2 separate regions of the Homo sapiens genome follow, and region 2 is linked to region 1. Evidence: promoter capture Hi-C in 16 types of primary human blood cells and fetal thymus (Javierre and others, 2016). All regions are on one chromosome and are shown on one strand. The core of a region is centred on a gene start or on the middle of the fragment in contact, and the rest is flanking DNA. Distances in the headings are between cores, read along the strand shown.

Region 1 (3,252 bases), core at 248-2,747:
GAGCTTTCTAATCTACCATCCTGCTGATGACACTCTGTGTGAAAATTTTTAAATGGCTCTATTATATTCCATTGCTTCAATGTATAGTAATTTACCTAATTATTTTCTTTTATTGTTCCTTTTAGGAAGAAGTGAATAGAAGAAAAGAGGGTGTTGCAAATCAAAAGCACATAGAGATATCATCTTACACCAGTCAGAATGGCTATTCTTAAAATGTCAGACAACAACAGATATTGGTATGGATTCTTCACAGATGTTAATCATCTTCGTTTTTTGTTTTTTGTTTTTTTTTTTTTTTTTGAGACAGTCTTGCTCTGTCGCCCAGGCTGGAGTGCAGTGACCCAATCTTGGCTCACTGCAACCTCTGCCTCCTGAGTTTAAGCAATTGTCTTGCCTCAGCCTCCTGAGTAACTGGGATTACAGGTATCCACTACCACTCCAGACTAATTTTTGTATTTTTCGTAGAGACAAGATTTCACTTGATTGGTCTCAAACTCCTGACCTCAAGTAAACCTACCGCCTTGGCCTTCCAAAGTGCTGGGGTTACAGGCGTGAGCCACTGCCCCCGGCCTAATCATCGTGTTCTAGTCTGCCCTCCAATGGGAGAAACAAGTAAAATTATGCCATGTGAGGATTATTCACCAATTTATTTTAATTACTTTTTTCTTTATAACATTTAATAAGATCACAAATTATATAAAATAGTTATCAGCTTTTTGGGAAGTTACTTTTGCTGGTTTCTTATAAAACTGATGGAAGATACAAACACTATTAAAGAACTGTTTGCATGTTGCAAATGATGTCCAAAGTCCAAACATTGTTAATAATTAATACTCCAATAAACATCATGTCAGAATTTCTGTTTTCTTTTCCCTTTGAACCTTTGCAGGATTGCCACATCATCAGGACCACACCTTCATCAGGAATGAATATTCCTACTACAATTAAAGAAGAAACAAAATTAATTTGTTGGTGAAAAACGTAAAAAGAGAAATTTTCTTTGGTTTTGTTTAATTTCTTTATTGAGGGTCACCACTAAAAAAAAATGCTCACTGGTCATTCTTTTGAATACTGTCTGAGAGAAAGATGTAAGATGGTTGATTATTTCAAATGACAGAAGATAAAGATGGGATATCATCATGGCATGAACAAAAACAAGATTTGTAGCTGGAGGTATTTTATAGTCTAACATGATCACCAATCATTCTATAAACCTGTTGGATGAGTTTATCAGACAGACAGAGAGAGAGATTGATTGATTCTGAATAGAAAATTTCACTTTAGAAAAAAATATTTTGACTATATAATAATGTATGTAAAAATTCTCTTTGATAAGAAACGAGTGAACTGGATTCAATTTTCCTCACAGCCTGTGTAATACACCATCACTTGCTTCCTCCTACATGCCATTGATTAGCCCCAGGGAGCAGTGCAGCACTGCCTGCCCATGTTTTACATAACCCCTGAATATAAATGCCAGATGTTGCTGAAGGAAACAGGATCTGCTTAGTGAAAGAAGTGGCAAGCAATGGATCCCAAATATCAGCGTGTAGAGCTAAATGATGGTCACTTCATGCCCGTATTGGGATTTGGCACCTATGCACCTCCAGAGGTAATAATCACATTTTCAGCATTGAGCATTTAAAAGAGCAAAGCTAGAATAAGTGAACGATGACCTGGGTTGTTCAGCTTTGTGTTTCTGTTACCCTGAGTGACTCACGTGGTCTGTCTTACTGGGCTAGAGCTATTCTATGTTCAAAGAGAAAAGGTAGTCAATGTTTGTTTTGCACTGAGGTCTGTCATATGGTAATTTACTGCTTATTTTTATTTTATACACTGTTTTTATATGCTGTTTCTGTGTATTGCCCAGCTTGGCAGAATATATAAAACTCAACAGTGAAGAACACTGCCTGGCAGTTCCCTTTCTAGGAGATGACTGCAGTGAGAATGGTTTCTCCATTTATTTCTGTGGTTGAAGAAATCTTTTATTCTTCTACTAGACGTGATCAAAAGAAACATTTGTGGTAACAGCACCTAAAGATGGGGTGTATGAAAACTGTTGGGAGAGTACTGCTGAGCTGCCGCGTGGTCTTGAGCATGACACAGTAATACTGGTCCTGGACTTAATACAATGCCCTGCACAACTCTCACCTCTAGGAAAATTATCTGAAAGGAAAAATAACTTTATTCTAAGGAAAACCTAGAACCTCACAAGAAAAATTTTAAATTTTTGGTCCGTGTTAATATGCATCAGATTTGTATCAAAATGATAGGGGTGGCCCTCTGACACGGAAGTGGGCAAAATGGAGACATTTTTTCTAGACTGAGCTATTTCTACACTGGAAGAAAACTTGTATTCCAAGACTACTAAGTGTGTTAATAAGGAGTAGTCACATAAAATTTTTGTCTAAATTTGATCAACTATACGTTGTAAGAATTTACAGAGAAACACCTTGAAGACCATCGACAGGAGTGGTTCACTTTGTAATGCAAATTGGCATGAAGGAGAAGTAAGGAAAAGCACAACACGGAAGCTCTAGCCTTGGTAAACCTTGAGTGCCTGCACAGCAAACAGAGGATCAGGGTTGGCATCAGGGGAAGGTAGTGCAACCTGGCATCTAGTTCCTTTTAATTTCACTAGAAAAAGAAAGCTTCAGAAAAGCTTATATTAAAATAGAAAATTGTTTCATTTACGGTTTTGTCATTTAAAAAATATACCTTTCAAATCTTTATCCAAATTTGGTAGATAAGTCAATAATTTTAAATTTCACTGAAATTATATCGTTTCTAAAAGAGTTGGTCTTATTTTTTAGGGATAAAGCGTACCTTACTAATCTCTCACAGGTCGCAGTTAATTTCTTAGGTATAAATCTACATCCTTGGAATGTATGTCTTTACTCCTAGTATTTAGTTCTGTCATGCACACAGAATGGCTAATGGCTGTGTAGAAAGGAGTTAACACAATAGACTGCCACCCGTAGATGCGCCTGTTTTCAAAGTTGGAGCCTGGCTGGTATCTGAGAAGTTGAATTTCTCACCCCTTCCTAACTGATAAGGGTAGCATCTATAATTAACTGGTTGTACAAAGTGTGGGGTTTCTGTATACCTGCTTTCTTTACAAGACCGGAAGTTTGGTGTGTGCTATACAGACTGGGTCAATTTAACCAGCACCCAGTTAAAATCTTGGGAATTGAGTCTCCAAATAGCATCCCTTGTAGTCAACATTTCCCCTATGTTGCCAAAATGTGATGC
Region 2 (3,252 bases), core at 522-3,021, 330 kb before region 1:
CAAGTTAGAGAGTTATGTTGCTAAAGAAAAATTGTATTCATCATTATTCATTTGGAATTCTGGGGGAAAATTTAAATTTTATGTTGAAAACAATTTCTAGAAAGGATTGTTTTCCCCTAGGGTTCTTTTGGTCAATCTCCTTCTCTCTCAAACTTACTGAATTCTTACTGTTTTGTAACTAGCAGTACCAAATCCCAGGACAGACGTGAAGTTTCTGTCATTCAGTTTCAGAGAACAGCATGTATATTGGGCCATTGTTTTTCACTGTCCAGGCTAAATAGGTCTGATTATATTTCAGCAAAGTGATCCTCTTTATCATTTCCACTTCCTCCTTCCTGTGCTCTGAGACAGATTTTATGTTTGAATTACATAATAAAAGGTAGGAGGGGTTAAATCTAGAGCCACATCCACATTCTTTTGACGGTGGACTAGAAAAGAATCCAAAGAGAGGACGCGTAGCACTGGAACCAGTTTTCTGGTTTTCTTTTAAATTAAACTGCATTTTGAGATGATTATAGATACACAGGAAGTTGCAAAAAATAATTCAGAGTCTGCCCTTTATTCAGATTCCCTGAATATTACCATCTTGCAAACCTATATAGTAAGTTATCACAAATGTAGCTGCCCAAGGGGTTCACCTTGCTTGCTGCCTAGGCAGAGCCAATTCATCAAGACAGGGAAATTGCAATAGAGAATGAGTAATTCACGCAGAGCCAGCTGTGCAGGAGACCGGTGTTTTATTATTACTCAAATCAGTCTCTCGGAGCATTCAGGGAGCAGAGTTTTGTTTTTGTTTTTGTTTTTTTTTTTTTTTGAGATGGAGTCTCGCTGTCGCCCAGGCTGGAGTGCAGTGGCGCCATCTCGGCTCACTGCAGGCTCCGGGAGCAGAGATTTTAAGGATAACTTGGCGGGTGGGGGGAAGCCAGTGAGCCAGGAGTGCTGAGTAGTTAGAGATGAAATCACAGGGAGTCAAAGCTGCCTTCTTGTGCTCGGTCATTTCCTGGGTGGGGGCCACAATATCAGATGAGTCAGTTTACTGATCTGAGTGGGGCCGGCTGATCCATCAAGTGCAGGATCTGCAAAATACCCAGGCACTTAGGAGCAGTTTACGGAGGGTCAGAATCTTGTAGCCTCCAGCTGCATGACTCCTCAACCATAATTTCTAATCTTGTGGCTAATGTTAATCCTACAAAGGCAAATCTAGTCCCCAGGCAAGAAGGAGGTCTGCTGTGGGAAAGGGCTGTTACCATCTTTGTTTAAACTATAAACTAAGTTACTCCCAAAGTTAGTTCAACCTACCATCAGGAATGAACAAGGACAACTTGGAGGTTAGAAGCAAGATGGAGTCAGTTAAGTTAGATCTCTTTCACTGTCTCAGTCATAATTTTGCAAAGGTGGATTCACAACCAAGATACTGATATTGATATTGTCTTAGACTTCTCCAGTTTTGGTTGCATTCCTTGGTGTCTGTGTGTGTGTTCACTGTTGTACAATTTTTCACACATTCACGTTTCCATCTCCACAGTCAAGGTACAAAACATTTCCGTCACCATGAGGGCCCTCCCTGTCACCATTTTCTAATTGCATTCAGCTGTCTTCTGCCTCTGCTGCCTCCTTAACCCCTGGCAACTAGTATGTTCTTCATTCCTATAATTTTGTTATTTTACAAATTCAGTATAAGTGGAATTACACACTATGTAACTTTTTTGGACTGGCATTCCTCTGTCACCACAATTACCTTGCCATTCAGCCAAGGTGTTGGATGTGCCAATAGTCAGTTTATTTTCATTGCTGAGTAGGATTGCATGGCAAAGATAACGCCATTCATCCGTTGAAGAACTTGACTAGTTTCTTTTTAACCCACAGTTCTAACATTGCTTTCAGCTCTGTGTAGCAGTGATAAGAACAGCGTTGGCCTTCCAGTGTTTTTCCTTCCTTTTCCAAGCCATGTGTTACTTGATGTGACTCATTGTCTGGGCTTTGTCAAAGCGAGAGGCAGCGTCCTCAGGGTCCGTCTTTCTTATCTTTGTAACGAAAACCTTGGAGCATTTCAAGTTTGCAGCTTTCCTATTTTGGTGACTCTTGAAACCTCACTGTGATATATATACTGCCCCCAGAGCAGGCACACTCTAATAATGGCTCCAGTTTTAAGATGGTGCAGCTTAGTAGGAGACTGGATCGTTGGGGGTTTGGGAAATAATGTGGGCTCTTTCTATGGAGTAATGCAGCTGTATAAACTCCAGGCAGCTTCCTAAACTGGGGTCAGGCCTGTAAATACTGTAAGATTCTCCACTATCAAAGACTACAGCAGTCTGTGGTGGCAATGCCAGCTTCTGGGTTCCTGTTGCTTACTTTTTTCCCACAGAGAGAAGTTCTTCCTGGTTCTGAGCTGATCCTGACTGGATGACAGAGTGGCAGAGGCAGCGTGTTTTATTCCTTTCTCTATATGGCCATCCTGAGTCTCTTTGCTCCACAGAGTTTCTCTCATCCATTATCTAAAGACTCTACAGCTCTCCTTTAGTTGCTCTGGTCAAAATGTAGTTGTTTCTTCATCGCTTTGGTCTGTTTTTGTGGGTGGGGAGAAGTGTAGGAACCTCTAGTCAGTTATCTTGCTGACATAAGCCCGTGGAATTTTCTATGTAGTCAATCACGTCACCTGCAAATGGAAACAGTTTTCTTTCTTGTGATATGTATGCCTTTTATCTACTTTTCTTGTCTTACTGTATTGGCTAAAACTTTTAGCACTGTGTTTAAAAAGAGTGCTGAGAGTGGACATCCTTGCTTTTTTCCCAGTCTTAGGGACAAAGAATTCAGCTTAGCTGTAGGTTATTGCAGATGTTCTTTATCAAGTTTAGAAAGTTATCCTGTAGTCCTATTTTCTGAAAGTTTTAATTATGGATGGATGTTAAATTTTGTCAAATGCTTTCACTGCATCAATTGATATGATCATGTGACTTTCTTCTTTAGTTTTTTAGTATGATGGATTATATTAACTGATTTTTGAACATTGAACCAGCCCTGTATCCTTGATATAAGCTATACTTGGTTTTTGTGTATAATTCTTTTTATATTTTTTTAAATTCTATTTGCTAATATTTTGTTGAGGATGTTCACATCTATATTTTTGAGAGATATTGTTCTTAGTTTTATTTCTTTCTTCCTTTCCGTTTTTGTCTCATTTTCATATTGGGGTAATGCTAGCTCTGTAAAATGAACTGGGAAGTGTTCCCTCCTCTTTTGTTTTCTGAAGCG

What was found. The method cuts DNA at HindIII sites, captures the fragments that hold promoters and counts their contacts. A CHiCAGO score of 5 or more calls a contact.
Region 2: a fragment that was not itself captured here is called in contact with the fragment with the promoter of AKR1C4 in region 1 in 1 of 17 cell types (M2 macrophages); the score reaches 5.3 in M2 macrophages.

Annotation. Positions count from the first base shown.
Region 1 is chr10:5,195,340-5,198,591 of GRCh38, forward strand. It overlaps AKR1C4 (aldo-keto reductase family 1 member C4), which reads left to right and starts at 1,498. Exons shown (of 9, transcript NM_001818.5): 1 at 1,498-1,612. The coding sequence starts at 1,529. The HindIII fragment of the contact is 18,750 bases long and covers 1-2,649 here.
Region 2 is chr10:4,865,847-4,869,098 of GRCh38, forward strand. It overlaps a transcript of AKR1E2 not described here. Among named protein-coding and RNA genes, the nearest start is that of AKR1E2, 41 kb to the left of the region's middle. RefSeq lists a cis regulatory region at 833-1,108 and an enhancer at 1,791-2,085. The HindIII fragment of the contact is 3,641 bases long and covers 1-3,252 here.